Linked DNA regions of Homo sapiens: regions 1, 2, 3, 4, 5 and 6 are each linked to region 7. The links are contacts of gene promoters, found by promoter capture Hi-C in blood cells and fetal thymus (Javierre and others, 2016). All regions are on one chromosome and are shown on one strand. The core of a region is centred on a gene start or on the middle of the fragment in contact, and the rest is flanking DNA. Distances in the headings are between cores, read along the strand shown. Region 1 overlaps LOC105378758 (a long non-coding RNA gene). Region 2 has its middle 24 kb from the start of CYP2J2. Region 3 overlaps LOC105378758 (a long non-coding RNA gene). Region 4 overlaps HOOK1 (hook microtubule tethering protein 1). Region 5 holds the start of CYP2J2 (cytochrome P450 family 2 subfamily J member 2). Region 6 overlaps HOOK1 (hook microtubule tethering protein 1). Region 7 holds the start of MYSM1 (Myb like, SWIRM and MPN domains 1).

Region 1 (3,482 bases), core at 658-3,157, 1.1 Mb after region 7:
GTTGTCATAGTGTAATGGAATGCCACTGAAGGGTTTTTAAAAGAGGAGGGAGTTGCATTCTACTTCACATAGAGTTGTAGAATCATGTAAAGTAGAAACCTCCTCAATTTCCTCAGCTCCTCAATCCCCACCCCACTACCCATAAGCTTTTCCCTGCAGGCACCCATCTGCAGGAAGCTTTACAGTTGGCCACCTCACTCTGGTCCACACCAGAGTCTTATCTTTCTGGTCTTTAGATTTCACCAGGCCACAACTATAAAATGACTTATATGAAAAATACTTGTATACTTTTATTATAAAATTTGCTGTCATTTACATTATTTGTTCATTCACTCAGTCTTTTCTAGGAACTATATCTGATGCCTCCCAGAACTCCAGAATCTACTAAATATTAAGAACAGTGTTTCCCTCTATTCCTCAGCTGCCAAGGAGCTCATGACTACATTTAATATACACACAATTGTATTTTCCTCAGCTATGAAATCATGATAAAATAGTTCTTGCCTTCCCCTTCATTGATTAGTTGCCTTTATAGTATGCTAGAATTATTTTACTATGCCAGTACTTTTATTGTAAGCTAATTGAAGATTTTTTGAAATTAGAACAGTTTTACCATTTTTAAAAATTAGCAAAAAAAAAAAAAAAAAAAGAAGAAGTATTTTCTGCCACTTGATAAAGGACTTTTCTCTTTAACACCAGTAACAGCCTCAGCATGAGGATTCTGGTAACAAGGAACCCCTGAGGTTGCTCTGGTTTTTTCTGAACAGCTCTAATTACTGTAAAGTTATTAAATGTTTATTGATTGTAGAACCAAATGAATAAACAATGGTCTGTTGTTCTACTAAGTTCAAAACACATTAAGGAAACAATTTGTTTATTAAAAGCATGGATTTTTAAAAGCATGGATCAAATATAAAAATAAAAATAGAAGGGTTTTATATAATATGTAAAGTAGTACTAATAGAATGCAATAAAGACAAATAATTATCCCCAGGGGAACACTATTACAGGCAGGCTTGATAATGATTTATTTTTTCTTTCCTTTTGTGATAATTATTCACTCATTGGTACTAAGAGATGCTGACAGTTCACTAACAAGATGATTGCTTTTGCTTCACATATTCTGTGCTTTCCTCTCATTTTAGTCCTAAGACAAATTATTCAATTACTTTCAGGTGCTAAATTTGTTTTAATAGTGTCTATTCTATGTAGATATATGATTCTCTAATTTTAATAAAATTAGAGCAATTTTATTTTGATATTTTAGAAATACACTGAATGCCATTTAAAATGTTAAGGAATTCTTAGTTTTTTCACCATACATAAATTTAAGTTTGGAAGTGAAGTCAGAATAGACTTGAGACTTAGATACCCAAGACTTGGATCTGAAATGCAGCCATACCACATACTAGCTGTGTGTGAACTTGGACAAATTAATTAATCCCTTTGGGTCGCTCTTTTTTTCAATTTTAAGGTAGAGTTGGTGGTAATCACTTCTCTACCCAACTCACTGGGTTGTTATGAGGTTCAAATGAAACAATGGCTTTGCACACCATAAAGTTCTTGTCAAATATCGGTAATAGTATATGTATTCACTTATTTCAAAAACATTTGTCAAACACCCACTCTATGCCCGGCACTGTGCTCATGCCAGAAATGTGCAAATGTTTGAATAGAAGATTATGAAGATGATTATGTCACTGTTTCTTAGGTTTAAAATGTACATATCTTACACCAACATAACAACGTGAATATATAATACAGTTACGATATTTCTTCCCATTAAGGCTTTTGATTATATTTTGCTCATTTTAGAAGTAATAACTTTATTCTAACTTTGTCATAGATATTATATACTGAATGTAACTAATTAAACAATGTAGTTGAAAATCTTGTAAACAGGATACAATATATAATTCTATTATTTCTAGTTAGAAAAGCCAGAAACTGGTTAATTTTTTTTCTTTGAGACAGGGTCTCACTCTGTTGCCCTGGCTGGAGTGCAATGGCATGATCATGGCTCACAGCAGCTTCAAACTGCTGGCCTCAAGCAATCCCCCTGCCTTGGCCTCCCAAAGTACTGGGATTATAAGCATGGGCCACCATGCCCAACCTAATTTTATTTAACCAGTGAATTCCAACAGGTTTTATGTTTAGTTCCCAGTGTTGTCTCTTATTGATTCTTCTTATTTCGAACTGACAGTGAGCCCAGACAGAGTTTTAATATAAATTGTCATGGGGAAACACTCTTGAGATCTTCTGTGTCTTCTGTTTTTGAAGAGTTTGTTTCACAGTCAAGCAGAAACAACAGTATGGACTCTAAGTGCAAGAGAAATGTGTGCTATAATTACAAAGGCAGCAATGAAATATAATTACTACAGGGGCAGCAAGAGGCAACAAGATAATAGGCTGAGTTCAATCATTCAAAAAATACTAAATGAGCATTTACCAATGTACTTTGCTAGTGACAGGGAATACAGTAGTTAATGCAGAGCTGATACTCACTTCATGGAGTTTAGAGAAGTGAAGAAGAGTTCAGAAAAGTTAGAGTGAGTCTTTTTTTATTTTTATTTTTAGAGACAGTGTCGCACTCTGTCACCCAGGCTGGAGTGCAATAGTGCAGTTACAGCTCACTGCAGCCTTGATCTCTCAGGTTCATGCAATCCTCCTGCTTCCGCCTCCCAAGTAGCTGGGACCACAGGCACAGGCCACCACACCTGGCTAATCTTTAAATTTTTTTGTACAGACAGGGTCTCACTATGTTGCCCAGGCTGGTCTTGAACTCCTGGGCTCAAGCAATAATCCTGCCTCAGCCTCCCAAAGCAGTGAGGTTACAGGCATGAGCCACTGTGCCCCACAAGTCTTCTAAGCAGAGAAAATAGCACCTGGGAGGGCCTTGGAAGTAAGAAGTATGGTGCCTTCAAATTACTCCTGGAGCATAGAGGACATTTACTGAAGTGTTCTGTATATCTTTGTATTTCTCACAATATCAGGAATGGGTTGTCCACAGATATTTTTGAATCTATAATAAATGGTGAACACCAATGAGCATGGCACCATTGGGTCTGCCAGTCCTCCTGGAGCATGTCTGGTTCTGAATGTCAGAACATTAATATTTTCATTGGGAAAATGTGAGTCTTGATAGCACTACACAGAATGATAATGGAAATATAATGAGGTGATAAAGGAGCAAACTTTAAAATGTAAAAACATCATCAAATGTTTGTTGTTCATCTTTGAAACAATTGGAACAGTGGAAAGAACATGGAAAAGAACAAAATCAAGGAAGATACTAGATTGAAAGGGGTCAGAATCTTGAACATTTTCTTAATTTTAATTCTAAAATATGTCAAAGAATAGAATGTTTCTGAAGCTGAAATAGCCATATCTGTGTCAATGTCAGAGTCTCATATACTCAACTTGGGGAGAAACAGAAAGCGCCAGGCTGTCAGCTTAAGCAAGGCTCACAGACCAATGCACCT
Region 2 (3,695 bases), core at 617-3,116, 1.3 Mb after region 7:
AGCAATGCAATTGGATGCATTTGATTATTTTTGAAAACCTCAGTTAAACCCTGTGTTGTTCTACCTTCAGTTTATTTGGGTATTTCATTTAAAGGACTGCTGTAGCAATATTATCATTATCAAAATTTTTTTTCAGCATCCTGATGGAGAATGTAGTGCAACCCTTGGTGCAAATGCAAACCCATTTTGGAAAATACTGACTTAAAGAAGAAAATCCAAGCTGGGTGAAGTGACTCACACCTGTAGTCCCAGCTACTCAGGAGGCTGAGGAAGGAGGATGGCTTGAGCCTAGCAGTTAGAGGCTGTAGTGTGCCATGATTGTGCCTGTGAATGGTCACTGCACTGCAGCTTGGGCAACATAGTGAGACCACATCTCTGAAAAAAAAAATGAAAGAAAAAGAACAGAATTCAAACTCTCCTGATGGCATTCAGAAGTCTTTACAGGCTGATCCAACTCCTCCTTCTACCCTGTCTCTGTTGTTGCCTATATTACTGACATACTTGATCTCAGACCTATTGCACAACTTATGGGTCCATAGAGCACCACATAATTTCCTATTTCTATGTTTTTGCGTGTGCATGGAATGTCCTTGATCCTCTTTGTCTGCTATGGATTTCTAGTCATTTTTCAAAAGTATGGATATAAAAGCTATTTGTCTTTGAGTTTTTCCAAATCCCACCCCTGACTCCTAGAATTGACTGCTTCCTCATGTGGTATTTGGATAAAATCCTTATGTTCCCTTTGACTAAATATACTTATTTTTTAGTGTATTGTATATTTTTGACTTATTTGTATCAATTTACTGTTAGATTTGAGGGAAGAAACTGTATATCCTTGACAACTTTCCAAGTTCATGGAGTTCAAAAAATGTTTGTGGAGTAAATAAGTGAACACCAATATCTTCCATAAAGTCTGCAGGCTAATTCCATAAAGTCTCAAACAATTCCATCATGAGTAAACCCCGGTAACCCCCAATCACTAGAGGGAGCAGGTCCTAATTTCTCTAGTGGGATATCTTGATCTGTGACTGGAAGCTTTTTTTTTTTTTTTTTAGAACAAGTGCAAGATTTTATTGAGTGGAAGTAGCTCTCAGCAGATATTTATTTTTCCCTTCCTTTACAGAAGTCTTCTTGCCAGGGATTTTTTTTTTTAATGGCTCCAGTCACCTGGAGTATTCTGCTCCACCCTCTCAGTACCACCCCAGGACTTCTGCTATTGTTTGCCTTACTACTTTCAAGGAAGAAGGAGGGGAATATTCTGTTGGCATTTTTGGATGCTCTTTTCTTTTTCCTCCTGTTGTTGTTCTGTATCATCTGACCTGGTGAAAACTTTTGGGAATGGGGAAGAAGCATAGTCCAATTCAAAGACCTGAACAGGTCAAGACTCTCTAACAACTAATGAATTGCACTTTGAGCTGAATGGTCCATTGTCAACTCGGTATTATTAGCACTCCAGCTAAAGACTCTAAGAAGCCATGGACTCCATTTCCGAGAATCTCCTTCCCATACAGTTTGGGTTAGAGCTTACCAATGAGTAGGAGAAACAGGATATTTGGTAGGTATGACGGAAGGAGACACTGCTCTTCTCCAGTCAGTTGCAGCCCTAAGTAGGTACAGGTACAGAATTCAGAGAGGTTCTTTTGTGAGCTGTCAAGACCATTTGCTTTGCTGCAACAGGACAGCACAATCAAGAGCTTCCCAGAGCTCTTCATATTTCATTGACTTGATGGCAAGCTCTTTAGAGCCCATTTCAGATCCTCAGGCTGAATCTTCAGTGTTGGCCTCCCTGACATTTGCTTCCCAGCTTTCCAAGTGGATGGGTAAGTTCTTTACACCTGGAATACTTGGAGATTTTTCTGCATTGCTAACCAAACTCTGCCATCTCTTGCAGTAATGAGGTAGTGAACAAAGGAGATAGTTAGGCTGTTTACAATGAAGCGGGTAATTTAAATCACCCCCGACCATAGTGGCTTGACCAAAAGCCATTTCTTTGCTCCCAATTCTATGGGCCAGGACTTTGGGCAGAGCTCAGCTGGACTGTTCATCTCAGTCCTGTGTGCACTGCCTGCTGTGGCTCAACTAAGATGGGGAGGTCCAAGACGGTCTCATTTGACATCTGAGGCATTGATGCTGGCTGTCTGCTGGGCACCTCAATTCTCCTCCACATGTCCCTTCTGTCCGCATGGTCTCTGACTGTTCAGTGGTCTAGCTGGAATTCTTTTCCATGTTGGCTGGCTTCCAAGAGGGTGAAAGCAGAAGCTGCCAGGCTTCTTAAGGCCTGAGCCTGGACCAGCATAGCACCACTTCTGCCAGATTCTATTCCTCAAAGCAAATACCCAGCCCAAATGGAAGGGAGGGGAGCTAGATTCCCCTCTTGAAGGAAAGAATGGCAACGTACCTTTGTAAGGAGCATGGGAGGAATTGTGGCCACTTTTGAAAACAATTTCCACACTAGCTAAGGAAACTGACATAGAAATGGTTAAGTTACTTGCCCAAGGTCACTCAGCAGCTAAGTAGCTGGGCCAAGGTTTGACCTTGATCAGTTCAATACCAGTGTTCATGTTCTTTACCTCTACATTCTGTTGCTTTACAACTTCCTTTTTATTTATCTCTGATCCTTCTCCAGACTACATGGTTTTATGTCCAATTCCCACATGGCTTTCAAGGCCCAGAAAAATGTCACTTTCCCTGTTTTTCTAAGCTTGAAATAGTCCTACAGCTTAAACTTTCATAGCATTTCTCTTAAGGTTCTTCACATTTAAAAAAAATAATAAAGCAAAAAATCAGATAACTGAAGCAGAACCTTGAGTGTTTTAATATTTTAATCAATATATGTGGTCCTTATCTTCCCTGTAAGCCTGTTAAGAACCCTGTAACTAGGCTTGGGTCCTATTTATCTATCTCTTGGATCATATAGTGTAAGACCAGTACATAGTAGTAATTAACAAATACTAAATGACTGGTCATGGAATGAGCCTACCTTATTTCTGAAAACCCCTTCTGACCTCTCAGTGCACCAAGAAATGTATGGTGACTGAAAGTAAGCTCTGAGGGTCTTAATCCCATCCTTATTAGTCACCAAGGACCCTCCTGTCTTCTCTCCCGACCTTGCTCTTTCCACATGCCATGTCCAGCTAGCTTCTGGCCCTTGGTGTAATACCATATCTTTGGCTCAGCTTTTAACTATCAGTTTTGACATTCTTGTTTTTGACCCTATTGCCCTCTGAGCAGCGCTTTTAATCAAATCTCCTACCCCACTTCCCATCTCTGTCATCGAAACTATGGCTTTGACCACTCTACTATCTTCTTCATAATATCAGGGGTAGGGTCTGTTTTGTTCATTGTTGACTACCCAATACAAAGTTCACTAAATACTGTAAGGCTAGCACCAAACCTATGCACTTAACCAGGCCCACCCTGGTCCCAAATGAGACTGTGTTTCAGATAGAGTGAATGACAGAAGCATCTAATGAAGTGCTGGGGGCTGCCTTTGTGCTAGGGAGGAGCATGAGGGCAGGCTTCATCAGAAGGGCTTCCCATGAGCCAGTAAGCTGAGTAATCCTGAGGGACGCATGCCTAACATAGCCACAATGAACCTTGTGTCACAGGGGTCAACCAGTTGCCAATTCTCTATGCGTATGCTTTTTTTTTTTTTTTCTAAACTTCCCTGGAGCATATTTGCTTATTTAACTTTC
Region 3 (3,346 bases), core at 759-3,258, 1.1 Mb after region 7:
GTTACCAGAAAAGGGTAGGTAAAGGAGGGAGTTAGAGAAGTTAGTTAAAGGATACAAACTTACAGCTAGATAGGAGGAATAAGTTCTAGTGTTTTATACACCTGTGGGATGACTACAGTCAACAGTAATATATTATAACATTTCAGATAGCTAAAAGGAGGATGCTGAATGTTCCCAACACAAAGAAATGATGGATGTTTGAGATGATGGATATGCTAATTACCCTGATTGATCAATACACATTGTATGCATGTATTGAAATGTCACTCTGTACCCACTAAGTATGTATAATTATGACGATTTCAATTAATTTTTTTGTTTTTAATTTTAATGAAGTTTATGTTATCTATTTTTTCTTTTGTTGCTTGTGCTCTTGATACCTTAGCTAAGAAACTATTGCTTAATCTAAGGTCAAGAAGAGTTACACCTATGTTTCCTTTCAAGAGTTGTATAGTTTTAGCTTTTACATTTGAATTTTTAAATCTGTTTTGAATTAATTTATGTATGTGTTATGAGGTAAAGATCCAAATCCATTCTTTGCCGTGTAGACATTCGTTTGTCCAAGCATCATTTTTTGAAAAGACAATTCTTTCCCCCATTGAATGGTCTTGACATCTTTATTAGAAATAAATTATCCATAGATATATTGATTTCTTTCTGGACTCTCAATTATACTCCAGTGACCTATATATCTACCTTTATTCCAATAGTACACTGTTTTGATTTTTGTAACTTTGTAGTAAGTTTTGAAGTATGGGTTTAAGTTCTTTTTGCTTTCTTTTTCAGGATTTTGGATGTCCTGCATCTCTTGCAATTCCATATGAATTTTAGAATCAGCTTCTCTATTTGTTCAAAAAAGAAGTTGAAATTTTGATAGAGCTTGCACTGAATCTGTAGATCAATTTGGGGAGTATTGTCATCTTAATATTATATCTTCCAATCCATGAACATGAAATCTCTTTCTACTTATTAAGGTTCTCCTTAATCTCTTTCAGCAAAATTTTATAGTGTTCAGTGCACAAGTGTTACAATTCCCTGGTTAAATATATTCTTAAATATTTTACCGTTTTGATGTTACTTTATTTTTATTTTTCTGTTTGTTTTTGTTTCATTTGTTTGTTTTTGAGACAGAGTCTCACTCTGTCACCCAGGCTGGAGTGCAGTGGCATGATCACAGCTCACTGCAACCTCTGCCTCCCAGGTTCAAGTGATTCTCCTGCCTCGGCCTCCTGAGTAGCTGGGACTACAGGCATGCACCATCACACTCAGCCAATTTTGTATTTTTAGTAGAGACAGGGTTTTGCCATGTTGACCAGGCTGGTTTTGAACTCCTGACCTCAAGTGACCCGCCTGCCTCAGCCTCCCAAAGTGCTGAGATTACAGGTGTGAGCCACCACACTGGGCCTGATGTTATTTTAAATGAAATTGTTTTATGGTTTCTTTTTCAGATTGTTCATTACTCGTATATATAAATACAATGGGGTTTTATATACAATACAGATATCCATTGTAGAAATACATGGAGTTTTGATATTATATTCTGCAACTTGGCTAAATTCCTCTATTAGCTTGCTATAGTCTGGATGTGTGGCCCCTCCAAATCTCATGTTGAAGTATGAACTCTATTGTTGAAGGTTGGCCTAGAGAGAGGTGTTTGGGTCATGGGAACAGATCCCTCAAGAATGGCTTGGTGCTCTCCTCACAGTAATGAGTTCTCACTCTGTTAGTTCATATAAAAGCTGGTTGTTTAGAAGAGCCTGGGGCCTCTTGGTGGCTTCTCTCTTGTTCCCTCTCTCACAGTGTCACATGCCTGCTCCCCCTTCCTTCTGCCGTGAGTATAAGCTTCCTGAGGCTTCACCAGAAGCCAAGCAGATCCTGGTGTCATGATTGTACAATCTGCAGAACTGCGAGCCAAAGAAAACTCTTTATAAATTACCCAGTCTCAGGAATTCCTTTATAGCAATGCAAAACAGAGTAATGCATAGCTTTAGTAGTTTTTTGTTTGATATAAAATCATGTCATCTGTGACTAGAAATAGTTTTACCTCTGCCTTTCTAATATAGATGCCTTTTATTTCTTTTTCTTACCTTGTTGACCTGGCTAGAACGTTCAGTATAATGTTGAATGGAAGTGGCAAGAATGAAAATTCTTGTCTTGTGCCTGATATTACAGGGAAAGCTTTTGGTCTTTTACATAGAGTTTGATGTTAGCTATGGAATTTTCCAGATGGCCTTTATCATGTTGAGAATGCTGCCTTCTATTTCTACTTTACTGAGTGTTCCCATCATGAAAGACTGTTGAATTTTGTCAAATGCTTTTTGTCATCAGTTAAGATGAATGTGTGGGGTTTTACTCTTTCTTTCATAAATGTTGTAATATGTTGATTTGACTTCTTTTCATATGTTGAACCACCCTTGCATCCCTGGAAAAAATTAGTCATAAGGTATAATCCTTTTAATCTAGTGTTGAATTTTGTTTGCTAGTATTGTGTTGAAAATTTTTGCATCTATATTCATAAGGGATATTGGCATGCAGTTTTCTCTCCTTGTCATATCTTTGTCTGGCTTTGGTATCAGGGTAATGCTGGCCTCATAGAATGAGTTGGGAAGTATTTCCTCCCCTTCTACTTTTTGGAAGTTTGAAAAGAATTACTCTGCTTCATAAAATATTTGGTAGACTTTGCCAGTGAAGCCACCCAGTCATGAGCTTTTTTCTGTTAGAATTTTTGATTACTGATTCAATATCCTTACTTGTTTTAAGTCTATTCAGATTTCATCTTGAGTCAATTTTGATAGTTTGTGTGTGTAGTTTGTGTGTTTCTAGGAAGTTGTTCATTTTGTTTAGGTTATATGATTTTTTTTCACATAGAAATGTTTATAGCACTCTATATAATTCTTTTTATTGTCATAAGGCTAATAGTAATATTACCACTTTCATTTTTTATTTGAATCTTCTTTTTGTCTTCATCAGTTGAGGTAAAAGTTTGGCAATTTTGTTGATCTTTTCAAAGAACAAAGTTTAGTTTCATTAATTCTCTTTATTGTTTTTCTATGTTTTGTTTCATTTACCTCTGCTCAAATCTTTATTATTTCAGCCCTTCTGTTTGCTGTGGGCTTAGTCTGCCTTTTTTTTTTTTTTTTTTTTTTTTTGCTAGTCACTTAGGAAGGTTAGGTTATTTATATAAGATTTTTTTTTAACGTAGGCATTTAAAAGTATAAATTTCCCTCTGAGCACTGCTTTCATTGTATCTCATAGATTTTGGTATGTTGTGTTTTCATGTTCATACATCTCTATTTTCTAAATCCCCTTGTGATTTCTTCTTTGGCCCATTGGTTATTTAAGAGTA
Region 4 (3,342 bases), core at 208-2,707, 1.2 Mb after region 7:
ATCCAGTCTGTGCCCATTCTGGTGGCTGCTAGAGCTGCTGGTTTTCACAGCTACAGCAATTGAAAGGCTGCTTGTTTTCAAGGTTACTGCAGAGCTGGGGAGACGGGAATCATAGTTAGAAAAGTTAAAAGAGCAAAAAGCTTACTGTTCTAACCAAGGTTTAGCAGGTTTACTTTAATAAATGCTCACCAGACTGTTGTAGGCCTTTGGTTTATTCCCAGAATTCTGAAATAGTTGATAATGACAAATGTGCTAGTGTGTGCATTACGTTAATGGAGGAACAGATTTACAGAGGTCTTTGTGCCTGCTCCTGCTAGATTTCCAACTTTAGGGTTCAGAGATCCTTAAGGCACCTACGGACCCCTTGAATCAGTTACCAGTTTACTGCTAAATTGATTTGAAACACGTAATGGACTAATTAGGGCTTTGTTTATTGACTTGGAACATAACAGCATTTAACACATGATTTTATATTCAGTAGTACTTTTCAAGTTCTGGGAAAATGATTTAAACATGAACGTTCTGTTCGTAACCTAGAAGTTTGTCATTGGTGTAGGCTGTAAAATAAAATAGTCAGTGATATGAAGTACCAGCTTGCTGTCCTTGGGAAATGGTGTTTTTCCGCCAATGTGTATCTCCAGGATACTACTTACCACTTCTTCCAGTTGAGTTTCACAACAGTGGTAAAAAGTAACTAGTCTCCAGCGTCTCTTACACACCAACCTATATTCTAGATCCTTGACTAATACCACCTTTGTTATTCAGAACACCTTTGCAAGGGTTTATGTATCAGTATTCCTATTTTGAAGTTATGGATACTAAAGCCAAAGAGTTATATAAGTTGCCTAAGACAATATAGCTAGGAAGTGGTGAAATTGGTATTCAAACCATGGTCTTTATGCCTCCAAAGTCCATGCTTTTTTATTACCCGTTGCATATCTGTCCTCTGTTACATAATTGCATTCATTTTGTTCAAAGATAAGCTATCTGATGGGAAAGTCAAAACCATGTATAAAGACACATACTATTTATGTAACTGAATAGAAAATGAGCTTCTTAAAACTAAAACATTGTCACTTAAAATTAAGCAACAATTATTAAACTAGTTAAGATAAATTGTAAGCATAAAGTACATTGTTTATAGGCAGAATTAAATACTTTGCTGATATCAACAATTCTTTTCAGAGACTAATTGAGCAGCGTGATACTTTGAAAGAAACAAATGAAGAGCTTCGATGTTCACAAGTACAACAGGACCACCTAAACCAAACAGGTTAATTTTGTTAGATTTAGAAAAGTTTCAGCCTGGGCAGCATAGTGGGACTCCATTCAACAAAAAATAAAAACTTAACCTGTCATGGTGGCGCATGCCTATAGTCCTAGCTCTGGGAGGCTGAGGCGGGAGGATCACTTGAGCCTAGGAGTTTGAAGTTGCAGTGAGCTATGATTGTACCACTGCACTCCAGGCTTGGTGTGAAAGAGAAAAAGAGAGAAAGAGAGAAAGGAAAGAAAGAAGGAGGGAAGGAAGGAAGGAAGGAAGGAGCACGGGAGGGAGGGAAAGGAAGGAAAGGAAAGGAGAGGAGGAGGGAGGGGAGGGGAGGGGAGCGGGGAATTGGGTTTTTGGACAGAGAGAGACCCTATCGAAAGAAAGAAAAACAAAGAGAGGGAGGGGGGGAAGGAGGGAGGGTTTTTTAAAATAGTTGAAATACTGAAATGCTAATTTATTTTTTGTTATTTTTTAGATGCATCTGCTACAAAAAGTTATGAGAATCTTGCTGCTGAGATTATGCCAGTGGAATATAGGTAAATTTGTTTCATAATTTGATAGAATTATATTTAATATTATAATTTTTTTGTTTTTTGTAAATGTCTTGGCCTTTAAAAACTTATTTTATGACTCATAGAGCTGAAAATTACTGTTTGATCTACTTAAACTTTCTAAATCATATTATTATTGCTACCACAACAATTTAAAATTTTATCAGAAGTAAAATTTCACAAACCCGTTGAATAACATATTTTAGTTTTTATAATATGACATGACCCCCATGTGCTATGTTATAATTGCTTTAACTAGGGAGATTTAAGTATATACTTTAAAGTTAGGAAATTATTAGAAAACAAAAATCAATATGATTTCACAAGCCTTTGATGGGAGAAGTGGTAAATGTATAAAGGGAGAAAAGTTACTTATCTTGCTTAGTGGGGAGTCAATCATTAACTTAAAATTAGTAATTTAAAAAATAGCCATATGAGCTTTTTTTTTAAGAGTTATACTATTGGCATTCAGAAGAACAAAAATTGAGATTACTTGAAATTAGTTGCTTTTGAAGAATGGGATTTGGCAGGGGAACAACTAAGGGAGAGTATTACCTCCCTATTTAATACAAATAATATTAACATCAATAATATTAATAAAAAGTTGCATTTTTTAAAAGTACATGTAAATCTTTAATAAAATTTTTTTCAGAAACAAAAGATCTAGAAACTTTCTTATTGCCATTATAAGGTATATATTAAAATTTTGCTCAAACTATAGTTTCTTAAATCTATTGCTTTTCTTTTATGTGTTTTCTAAGCATATACTATTTGTTTCCTTTAGCGAATAGTTTCTAAATTACCAAAGTAATATAATTTCTATTATCTCTTCAGGAATGGCATAATAACAATTTAATGATTTATAGCATAATCTTATATGGTACCTATAAAATTTGACTGCTTTTTTTTAAAGGCACAGTCTTGCAGTTTACATAATTTTTTCTTAAACACTTTCAGAAGCTTTTGTTGGAGTTTAAGAGTTTCATACCCTACCAGCTATGCTAGCTGGTCCTGCTTGCATCTTAAAATGGTAGCTATTGAGTGGACAGGAATTTCCTTTTTTTAACTAAAGAATATAATGACTCATATTTTTAAAAATTAAAAAAGATTTTGCTTTGTAACATCAGGGAGGTGTTTATTCGACTGCAACATGAAAATAAGATGCTTCGCTTACAGCAAGAAGGCTCTGAGAATGAACGTATTGAGGAACTTCAGGAGCAGCTAGAACAGAAACACCGTAAAATGAATGAACTGGAAACTGAGCAGAGGTGATATGCTCCTTAGTAACTGAAAATCTTGGTGATTTTATTACCGAGCCATAAAATCTTGATTCACAGAAATGGAAAATATTATTGTAGCTAAAGTAATTAGAATTACCTAGAAATAGTTTAATATTTTTGTTAGTAGTCTTTCATCACTATAAGCTTCTCTCTGTGAAAGAAGTCAGGTGATTCATTTCAGTTATATTTATAAAATATATGGATAATCCATTAATTTCAGCATTCTTGGTTAACCAGGCTACTT
Region 5 (3,650 bases), core at 1,075-3,574, 1.2 Mb after region 7:
AAAATTATAATATTATCTGATGTAGTTCTCAATGTATATAGAGATAACACTTACAACAATTATGAAGTAGAGAGGGTAAAGGAACCTAAATGGTTGCAAGATATCTATATTTCACTTGAGGTAGTAAAATTTTTACACTAATAGACTGCAATCAGCTACATCTGCATATCGTAATCCTTAGAGCAATCACTTGTAAAACATAATACAAACAGAGCTGCTAAAAAACACCTCAGATAAATAAGAATAAAATTATTTTTAATATGTTCAAGTAATTCACAGGAAGATAGGAAAAGGAAAACAGAGGCATAAAAAACAGGAAAAACAAAATAAATAATAAAATGGTAGACAAATCTTAATATGTCAATAATTACATTAAATATAAATAGTCTACATTCACCAATTAAAAGACAGAGATTGCCAGAATGAAAAAAAAGACCCAAGTATATGCTGCCTTCAAGAAACTAATTTCAAGTATAATAATACAAGAAGGTTAAAAGTTAAAGAATAGAAATGCATATACCATGCACATACTAATCAGAAAAAAAGTTGTGGCTATATTATATCAGATAAAGTACAGTTTAGGCAAATAAAATTATGAAGAATTAAGAGGGACATTACAGGATAAAAGGATCAATTCACTAAGAAGACATGATAATCTTAAATGTGTATGTGCAAAACAACAGAGTTTCTAAATACATGAAGGAAAAACTACTAGAACTGAATGGAGAAATAGATACTCTCAACTGTCCTTTGAAACTTCAACATTCTTCTTTCAGTAATTGATAGAATAAGTAGATAACAAGTCAACAAGGATATAGGCAAACCAAACAATATCATTACCCAGTAAAATCAAATTGATATTGATATCAATTACTTCACCCAACAATAATTTATATCAATTATTCCACCCAACAATAGTCAAATACATATTTTTTCCAGCCTCCATGGCACATTTATCAAGATAGACTATATCTTGTGTCATTTAATCAACCTTAACATATTTAAAAGAACTGAAATTGTACATAGTATGATGTTTGACCACAATGGAGTCAAACTGGAAATAATTAACAGAAATGATAACAAGAAAATCTCCACATACTTGGAAATTAAACAACATATTAATTAAATAAGGACACAGGTTTGGGGGCTTAGTTTTAACATTCTGTGGCTAATTCTGTCACTTAGTATTACCAATTGGGTATTTCTCCCATAAAGTGATAAAACTTTGTCTATCAATATTTGAGGGCAATATACAGCCATGTGTTTAAAGTACTGCAGGCATGTGCAGGGAAAGGGGAACTACTATTTGTTATGTACCAACTATATGTCAGTATTGACCATTCACTATTTTATCTAATCTTCATAATCACTTGTCACACTGTTGTCTCTCAGCAAGTTACCTGTGCTGAGTGGCAGGAAAACCAGTATTGGTTTCTTGAGATAGGGTTTGATGTCTGAGAGAACTTGAAAGAACTTGGTCACCAGAGTCGGGGAGCCCTGATAGGAGATTATTGTATAGAGACGGAAAGAAGCTGCATCAAGAAGGGTCCCAGGTGGTTCAGTCAGGAGTCTGAACACCGTTTGGCAAAAATTTAAGCAGAGGAAGAACATTTTAAAATTATTACTTAGTGAGAGTGCACTGCAAGGGAAGGAGGTTGAAGCTGGAGGGCTCAGTTAGTGTAGTGGGAATAACTCAGTTGAGAAATGATCAAGATTGAGGTAGTATTATCACCATTTTATGTATGGGAAATGAAGTTTCTCAGAAAGAAAGTATAGCATTTTTAAGGACAATCATATAAAAGAGGGCAAGGTAATCACATTACAAGTAAGGTGTTCCAGTAATGTTTAACATGACAACATGCAAATAGTAAACATTTAATAATATTCCATCCCTAGAAAGTGCAGGTGGAATCATGCCAGTTAATGGGTTAGGAAATGAAACTCAAAGTGGGTTTTACCAGGTTACCAGCGTTAGCCACACCTCTTCCTGCCCTTCATCCCCCACCCCACCCACGTTGCCGGAACGTCCCTTGTGCTGCAGAACAGAGTTAGGGTCAGGACACGCTAGGCACCTTCTCCCACTCCTACCAGCTGAACCTCCAGGTGCGACTGCTCGAAGTCCACAAGGAAGAAGTTGCCAAGGAAGGGCAGGCGCCAGGGCCCCGGCGGGTAGTTCTTTGGGCGCCGTCTTTTGAGAAAGTCAGCAGCGAGCAGAAAGGCGACAGTGCCCAGTAGGAGAGTCCGAGGATGGACCACTGCCCAGAGGGCAGCCGCCAGAGAGCCCATCGCCGCGAGCATGGCTCAGACGTCCTCCTGCTCTTCTGCGGTCCAAGCAGGCGGCGGTCCCAGCAGGCGACGGTCCCCGCCCCGCCTCGCTCCCAGCCGTGCCCCGCCTCCCAGCCCGCCCCTTCGCAGCACCCTGCGAAGATGCCAGGCGCTGGATTCCCGGGAGGACACGCACCGGTCTCAGAAAAGGCCAGGCTAGGAGCAGTTTCTTTTCTATTTAGAAAGCTCATGGGTTTACTGAGAGCGCCACAGACATTTGAGCCTCTGTTCGGTTCAATCACCGTCTCTCCTATGATTGGAACTGTGCCTGGTAAACAGCGATAACAACAGCAGTACCTAACATTTCTTGGGCTCTTACTATATGCCAGGCAGCACATCCGCCTCTTTACATAGATTATTATTTCATTTTGACAAAATTATGAAGGAGAAGCTCTCGGTAGTCTCATCTTGCTGTTGAGGAAACAGAAAAGTTAAGTACTAAGTATGTGGTGAACAAATAAATCCACCCTTCTGAAACACATCTAAACGAGGTCCTGTATTTGAAAGTGTCTGGAAGATTAAAAGGCACTACACCAAAGCTGCTAGCACTGAGCAGCAGCCATAATAAGTGCTTAATTAACATTTGTTGAAGGAATGTCTTAGTTCCGATCCTTGCTGGTTTGCTCTATTAGGCTCCTCTCCAAAGCCCCAAGACTGTGGGACCTCCAGGTTCCAGCCTTTCATACCATCTGGTGAGTGCCTGCTTGGGTTTCACAAATGGTGAGACTGAAAACATGAAACATAGCTCAGGAATAGTATAGTACACACTCATGTACTCAACATAGAGTCACATATTCTGCTTACAATATTTTATTTTATTTCTTTATTTTTGAGACAGAGTCTTGCTCTGTCGCCCAGGCTGGAGTTCAGCTCACTGCAACCTCCACCTCCCGGGTTCAAGCGATTCTTCTGCTTCAGCCTCCCATGTAGCTGGGACTACAGGCACATGCCACCATGCCCGGCTAATTTTTGTATTTTTGGTACAGATGGGGTTTCGCCGTGTTGGTCAGGCTGGTCTCAATCTCCTGACCATAGGTGATCTGCCCACCTCAGCCACCTAAAGTGCTAGGATTACAGGTGTGAGCAAGAAATGAAATGAGAGTTGAAGTCTCTTGTTCTCTTTCTAAGGTCCAGAGAGAAATACTAGTCAGAGCTTAGCTTTTATCCTTCTAGTCCACATTTTCCTGTTTTACTACAGCTGTTATGCATCCATACAATATTTCTAATATTTATATATGATATTTTTACACGAATTATTCTACAACTCAGTATTATGTGTTTGAGATTTATCCTGACTGATATATGTGGCTCTAATTCACTTAATT
Region 6 (3,300 bases), core at 508-3,007, 1.1 Mb after region 7:
TAAATAGAAAATATTCCTATTAACCAAAAATATGCACTTCAGGCCCATTCTCTATTAATCCCTACCCCCAGCCTTGCCCTAGGTAGCTATAGATCTGTTTTATGTTACTATGGAGTTCATTTCTGGAACTCTGTATAAATTGAATCATATAATATGTACTCTTTTTGTCTAACTTCATTCACTCAGTGTAATTTTTCAGTCTCATTCATGTTGCCTGCATTAGTAGTTATTTCTTTTTTTGCTAAGCAGTATTTCATTAGACTGATATTTTGTGGTTTGTTTAGCTATTCACTTGTTGATGGATGTTTGAATTTTTAACATTTTTGACTATTGTGAATACAACAGCTACAAACATTCATATATGAATCTTTGGATAGATGCATATTTAATTTCTCTTGGGTGAATTTCTGGGTGGAATTGCTAAGTTGTATAAGTATGTGCTTAACCTTATAAGAAACTGCCAAACTGATTTTCTATTTTTAAGTCAGTTTTGTTGTGTCTTGTAGGACATTTGTTTCATACAGGATGTATGATTTGTTGATACACAGTCCTTAACTGAATTACTGTGCTAATAATGTGCTAATAACTGATCTTTAATGATGTTTCCTTTTCTTTTCCTGCTATTGGTTATTTGTGTCTTTTGAATTTATTTTCCTTGATAAGTCTGGCTAGATGTTTTTCAATTTTACTTATTTATTTTTTAAAGAATTAGTGTATGTTTTCTATTCCATTGATTTTTCTGATTTTTATTATTTCCTTTCTCTCACTTAACCTGTTCTTCTTTTTCTTGCTTCTTAAGGTGGAAGCTTAAATAATCAACTCTAAACCCTTTTTTCCCCTAATATTAACCACCATCTTAGCCACATCCCACATATTTTGACAGACTGTTACTTTATTTTCATTCAGTTCAAAATATTTGGTAATTTCCCTTATAAAGTTTTCTCCTTTGACCTATGAGTAAATTAGAAGTAGGTAATTCAAATTCAAAATATTTGAGGATTTTCCAGTTGCCTTTCTTTTATTTATTGGTTTCTAATAGATCTGAGACAATACTCTGTATTGAGAAGTTATTTTACATTTATTGAGTCTTATTTTATGACCGAACCTATGGTCTGTCTTGGTGAATGTTCCATGTGCATATGAAAACAGCATGCATTCTACAGTTGTTATATAAATATAGATTTTGTTAAATTTGTTGATAGTGGTATTTTCCATATCTTTATTGATATTTTTTCTTATTATACTATGTGTATAGTGTAGTATAGACTCTGTAGAGAGCCCTTAAATCTCTAATGATGATTTCGATTTTGTTGATTTCTCCTTTGCATTTTTTTGCTTTTTACTTCATGTATTTTGAATTTCTGTTATTAAGTTTATTACACACTATATTTCTTGTGTGTTCTTGAATGAATTCACTTATTATGAAATGCTTTTCTTTATCCCTGGTAATATTCTTTTATTTGAAATCAAATTAGCTCTAATATTAATGTAGCCACTACAGATTTTTTATGATTATATTTTTCATTAGTATTTCTTTTTCCATTCTTTTAATCTGCCTATGTCTTTTTATTGAAAGTGTTTCATGTAGACACCTAATAGTTGGGTCTTACATTTTTATCCAGTTTGACAATCTGTATTTGATTCTTTATTGTAAAAAACCTTCTATTTCTTACATTCATGTTTTTGTTCAAATCCTTGAACATCTTTAAACTAGAAGTTTTAACATTGTCTCAATTCTTTTATCTTTCATTTCTGAACCCATGTGTATTGACTGAGTTTTCTCCTAATTTTGGTTCCCACTTTCCTGCTTCTTCACATCTGTAGTAATTTTTTAATTGGATGCTAAACATTATGAATTTTATTATTGAATGCTGATTTTTTTTTTTAAGTTTTTTTTTTTTTTTCCTGAGACAGAATTTCGCTCTTACGCCCAGCCTGGAGTGAAGTGGTGCAATCTCAGCTCACTGCAACCTCTGCCCCCGAGGTTCAAGCGATTCTTCTGCCTCAGCCTCCCGAGTAGCTGGGATTACAGGTGCCCACCACCATGCCTGGCTAATTTTTGTATTTTGAGTAGAGGCGGGGTTTCGCCATGTTGGCCAGGCTGGTCTTGAACTCCTGACCTCAGGTGATCCAACTGCCTCAGCCTCCCAATTAAGTATATTCTTTTGAGGAGTGTTGAATTTTCTTCTTGCAAGCAGTTAAGGTACTTGGAATCAGTTTGATCCTTTAAAGGCCTATTTTTGGCTATTGTGGGGGGCAGAACTAAAGTTATTCTTTCCTTTAGGACTAAAGTAGACTCATTACTAAGCTGTGACCTTTTTGGGGGTCTTTAGTGAATGTTTTGTGCGTGTAGCATGGTGTCTTCATTCTGGCTAGTGAGAATTTCAAAAATTTTTTGGCCTGTATAATCTTTGGGAATGGTTCAGTTTATAGTTCCCTGGATTGTTATTTCTTTGGAAAGAACATTCAGTTTCACCCATCCACATGCAAACTGGTATTTAGCCAAAGAGTCAAAGGAACCATTTTACACAAATCTCCAGAGCTTGCTCATTCCATAGCTCCCATCTTTTCATCGTCTGCCTTGCAAATTCAAACTGCCCAGGCCTTCCTGAACTTCTAATGTCTTATCTCTTCAATCGGTGAGAACATCAGGCTTGGTGTTTGGTTTCCACCTCCCTATGCTGTAGTCTGAAAATTGCCTCAAGACAGAAAGCTTGTACTAGTGTAGGGCCCATTTTCTGTTTGTTTTCATTCTTTCAGAAAGCAGAGTTCTGTACTACTTACTTGTCTAAAGCTTGCAAACAATTGTTTAATGTATTTTGTCTTATTTTCTAGTTATTAGTGACAGGAGAGAAAATCAAAACCCAGTTAACTTGCTCATGACTGCAGCTGGACATGCCTGTGTATAAATTTTTACAGTGGGCCCTTGAGTTCATTGTGACCCACTTTAAATAGAATCACCCTACTTAACTAAACACTGATTAAATCTCTGATGGTTAAAAAGCATCATGTGTTTGTATTTATAGAACTCTATTATAATGTTTTTGTTGTTCTTTTTAATTAGGGGAAAGTTTTTATTGTCTTTCATGCTGACATAACTTTTCTTTCATTATTAATCTGAAATAAGAATCTCTTATTTTTTTCACATTAGGCCAGTAATGTAAAGAAGGTCCTTCAAGGAATTATGAGTTATTATCATGAGGTATGAAAACCATCTGACTTTGTTTAAATGCATCATGCTATACGAAAATTACTTTAAGACTGAAAAATCACTTGGTTTTTTGTTTATAATATTTTACT
Region 7 (3,419 bases), core at 229-2,728:
ATGGAAGAAGCATACAGCCAATGCCCTCAGGTGACCAATCTTCAGTGTTTCCAAGGCCAGCTCATTTCTTTCTAGACTGCAGATAAGTATCCCTGCCAACCTATTTCATTAACTTGTTGCGAAAAGTAAATTAAATCAAACATGCAAAAGCACTTGGTCAAGATTTAAACACTAAATGAATGTCAACAAGTATTGTTATTAAGGGCTCCCTACTCATCTGCAAAGCTTTGAGGGACAATGACCATATGAGTTTAATCACCCCTCACGTCTTTATAGGGCTTTAGAGTTCATGATACACTTCTAAACACACTATCTTAGTGCCTCAAGCGCTGGGTTAGTACTTCTCCCCTGTTCACAGAGGCCCTAATATTAGGCTGAACTACATGAAGTTGCCGCTTTATAGAACAAAAATGGTCTAAATATTGGCAATTTCATATGGTTCAAGCTAATACAGTTCTAAGGAAATTGTACATAATTATAAACAACATAGCTGGCTGACTTTAGAACTCAGGCTTTCTGATTCCTGGCTAGTCTAGGACTCTTCATGACTAAAAGGAGACTCATTTTTGATTCAGAAAGCAAGGAGTCAAAGGAGGTTCTGTGTCAAATCACACTGGGCTGTTTGTTCTGCTGGAACAGGTATTTTAAAAAATGTGATCCCTTACTGGATTCTCACAGTACTGTCCCCGAGGGTAACAGGATGGTAAAGAATACATTCAGAGGGCACCTACCGTATGCTAAAGCATATCTCATAATCATTTCATTTGATCCTCCCAATTACATATCATGACTCCCAGTTTAAATATGAGCAGTCTGAGGCTCAGACAAGTTAAGTGTCTTGCCCAAGGTCACATTGCTATTAACTGGTAGGGCGAGCAAATGCAGAAGGAAAACCCAGAACTGTCCAACTCTAAAACCTGGCCCATTTAAGTCAACCTGCTTCTCGGGAAGTTTTACAACTATCCCCATGTGGAAGAAGGGATGAAACGACTCGCCCAAGGTCACACGGCTAGCAAGCCATAGAACAAGAGTCCCTGACCTCAGGTCTCGTCCGTAGCCGCTCTTGTTCTAGTTACTGTCGATGAGATCCTGAAAAGGAGGGAACGGAAGAAGGAATCTAAATGTAAATCAAACGCAATGTGGTAGGCGAAATCGGTGCCCTCACAGCATCCGGCAAAAGGTGAAAGCGACCCAGGAGTACCTGAGCTCCAGGTAACCGCCCTGCCCGCTGGGCTTGGGACAAGCCGGCGGGCGAGGTGCCTCCCAGGCCAACAAGAGACCCTGGCCCAGGGGACAGTCTTCTGTTCCCTTTTCCCTTGCCGGACCTGCAGCTTTCCCAGGGCCCGCTCCTTCAATCCACTCCCCTCTCCGCCCCAGAGAGACCCGGTCTCTAAGCCTCACCCTGGCTGTGCCCCCGCCGCCGCTACCACGTCCCCTTCGATATCCACATCCGCCTCTTCAGCCGCCATGATGGGACCTGACCCCGTCCGTCCTCCCGAGAGATCCCGCGAGACGAAGATGGCCCGGGGGCAGGGCCTAACGCGTCACGGGGCGGGATTGAAGCGTCGTCCGGCCCCTCCCGTGCCGGGAGGCGGGGTTTCCAGAGCAAAGGCGCCCCCAGAGGCCTGGGGCTTGGTCCTTTCTAACTTGTTGACATGTAGAGACCTTGGGAAGTGGCCCACGCCTGAGCTTTTTTTTTTTGAGAGGGAGTTTCACTCTTGTTGCCCAGGCTTGGGTGCAATGGCGCGTATCTCAGCTCACTGCAACCTCCACCTCCCGGGTTCAAGCGATTCTCCTGCCTCAGCCTCCCAAGTAGCTGGGATTACAGGCATGCGCCACCACGCCCGGCTAATTTTTGTATTTTTAGTAGATACAGGGTTTCACCATGTTGCCCAGCTGGTCTCGAACTCCCGACCTCCCGACCTCAGGTGATCCGCCCGCCTCGGCCTCCCAAAGCTCTGAGATTACAGGCGTGAGCCACCGCGCCCGGGCCCTCCTGAGCTTCTAAGAGCTTCTGTTCTTGCACACATTCTTTGGGACCTCACTGCTCTCACTGATAAAATGGGGATAACAGCAGTATCTTTCTGGACTGATGAAAAAGTCAAGCTAGACCCGCTTTGTGAACTGAAGGTTGCATACCTGCTGGTTATTTAAGTCTCTCTCTTTGTTTTTTAAAGAAAAGGGTCGTGCAGCACTTATGTGAAGTCGTTCAGCATTTCACCTAAGTGCTGAACAACTTTTATTTTAAAATTCAACAAATATTTAAGAATATAACTTATGATTGTGTAATTTATTTTGTAGACGTCTTTGCAATTTAAAAATCACGCTCATGACCATTAATCCTTACAGTGTCCCAGTGAGGTAGGCAGAGCTAATATCACCAGTTATACTTTACAGGTGAGGTAACTGAGGCCTGGAGAGCTGAAATGACTGTCCAAGGACAGGTAGCTTCAAAGACAGAGCCAGGAGTAGAATCCAGGCTTTGTTGACCCTCTACTGAGTGCTCACCATGTAACAATCATGTTGTTAGAAATTGGAGGATAAACACCACTTCTGTCTAGTTTATAGTTTCTCAAGAAATTAGATACTGACAGCCAGATGCGGTGGCTCACACCTGTAATCCCAGCACTTTGGGAGGCCAGGGAGGGCGGATCACAAGGTCAGGAGTTCGAGACCAGCCTGACCAACATGGTGAAACCCCGTTTCTACTAAAAATACAAAAATTAGCTGGGCGTAGTGGTGGGCAACTGTAGTCCCAGCTACTCAGGAGGCTGAGGCACAAGAATCGCTTGAACCCAGGAGGCAGAGGTTGCAGTGAGCCGAGATCACGCCATTGCATTCCAGCCTGGGTGACAGAGCGGGATTCCATCTCAAAAAAAAAGAAAAGAAAAAAAAACCCTTCTGCATTCCCCTGCCTTAGCAGCTATCACTCACACCTTGTAATTTTTCATCCGTCTGCCTTCTGCACTGGACTGTGAATTCCTTAAGGACAAAGACCACGTCTGCTAGTCCTTACACTACCAATATTCAGCATAGTGACACATAGCAGGTGCTCAATAACTATTGAACAGAGGAATGAATGAATTAATTAATTAATTAAATGACCTCACTTCTCACACTATTCCCAATTTGTCCCATCTCACCTTTGTTCTCAGGCTGCACTCTGAATATGATGGCAAAAGATGGAGAGAAAGAATTGCAAAGAGGGAGAGCCCAGTTCAGAAACCAAACACTGCTAGGGCCCATTCTCAGGCCACCATGGGAGTGCTGCTTCTGTTGTCAGTGGGCTTATCCAGTAACCAGTCCCACTGGTAACACCATGCCTGGAACAGAGTAGGCACTTAAAGATGTCTGTTGAATTTAATTTAGAGCAAAATTAGGGTTTCTTAAAAAGATGTAATGGGCTGGCCGGGCGCGGT

What was found. Contacts are between HindIII fragments. The CHiCAGO score rates a contact against its expected background, and 5 or more counts as called.
Region 1: a contact is called between a fragment that was not itself captured here and the fragment with the promoter of MYSM1 in region 7, in 12 of 17 cell types (naive CD8 T cells, naive CD4 T cells, M0 macrophages and 9 more). The highest score is 8.6, in naive CD8 T cells.
Region 2: a fragment that was not itself captured here is called in contact with the fragment with the promoter of MYSM1 in region 7 in 2 of 17 cell types (M0 macrophages and M2 macrophages); the score reaches 6.1 in M0 macrophages.
Region 3: a contact is called between a fragment that was not itself captured here and the fragment with the promoter of MYSM1 in region 7, in 6 of 17 cell types (total CD4 T cells, naive B cells, naive CD8 T cells and 3 more). The highest score is 7.9, in total CD4 T cells.
Region 4: a contact is called between a fragment that was not itself captured here and the fragment with the promoter of MYSM1 in region 7, in 2 of 17 cell types (naive CD4 T cells and total CD4 T cells). The highest score is 5.8, in naive CD4 T cells.
Region 5: a contact is called between the fragment with the promoter of CYP2J2 here and the fragment with the promoter of MYSM1 in region 7, in 3 of 17 cell types (M0 macrophages, total B cells and naive CD8 T cells). The highest score is 7.4, in M0 macrophages.
Region 6: a contact is called between a fragment that was not itself captured here and the fragment with the promoter of MYSM1 in region 7, in 6 of 17 cell types (naive CD4 T cells, activated CD4 T cells, naive B cells and 3 more). The highest score is 9.2, in naive CD4 T cells.

What each region holds. Positions count from the first base shown.
Region 1 is chr1:59,780,199-59,783,680 of GRCh38, forward strand. The region is part of intron 4 of LOC105378758 (a long non-coding RNA gene); the gene reads right to left. The region is part of intron 2 of LOC101926944 (a long non-coding RNA gene); the gene reads left to right. Among named protein-coding and RNA genes, the nearest start is that of HOOK1, 33 kb to the right of the region's middle. The HindIII fragment of the contact is 3,465 bases long and covers 176-3,482 here.
Region 2 is chr1:59,948,666-59,952,360 of GRCh38, forward strand. It overlaps a transcript of CYP2J2 not described here. Among named protein-coding and RNA genes, the nearest start is that of CYP2J2, 24 kb to the left of the region's middle. The HindIII fragment of the contact is 1,666 bases long and covers 1,034-2,699 here.
Region 3 is chr1:59,796,448-59,799,793 of GRCh38, forward strand. The region is part of intron 3 of LOC105378758 (a long non-coding RNA gene); the gene reads right to left. Among named protein-coding and RNA genes, the nearest start is that of HOOK1, 17 kb to the right of the region's middle. The HindIII fragment of the contact is 336 bases long and covers 1,841-2,176 here.
Region 4 is chr1:59,857,243-59,860,584 of GRCh38, forward strand. It overlaps HOOK1 (hook microtubule tethering protein 1), which reads left to right. Exons shown (of 22, transcript NM_015888.6): 13 at 1,186-1,273; 14 at 1,743-1,803; 15 at 2,946-3,086. Among named protein-coding and RNA genes, the nearest start is that of HOOK1, 44 kb to the left of the region's middle. The HindIII fragment of the contact is 2,638 bases long and covers 139-2,776 here.
Region 5 is chr1:59,924,449-59,928,098 of GRCh38, forward strand. CYP2J2 (cytochrome P450 family 2 subfamily J member 2) reads right to left here and starts at 2,325. Exons shown (of 9, transcript NM_000775.4): 1 at 2,089-2,325. The coding sequence starts at 2,298. RefSeq lists an enhancer at 1,673-2,208. The HindIII fragment of the contact is 8,163 bases long and covers 1-3,650 here.
Region 6 is chr1:59,829,012-59,832,311 of GRCh38, forward strand. It overlaps HOOK1 (hook microtubule tethering protein 1), which reads left to right. Exons shown (of 22, transcript NM_015888.6): 4 at 3,152-3,202. Among named protein-coding and RNA genes, the nearest start is that of HOOK1, 16 kb to the left of the region's middle. The HindIII fragment of the contact is 1,907 bases long and covers 805-2,711 here.
Region 7 is chr1:58,698,584-58,702,002 of GRCh38, forward strand. It overlaps MYSM1 (Myb like, SWIRM and MPN domains 1), which reads right to left and starts at 1,479. Exons shown (of 20, transcript NM_001085487.3): 1 at 1,402-1,479. The coding sequence starts at 1,469. RefSeq lists enhancers at 974-1,033, 1,244-1,653. The HindIII fragment of the contact is 3,791 bases long and covers 224-3,419 here.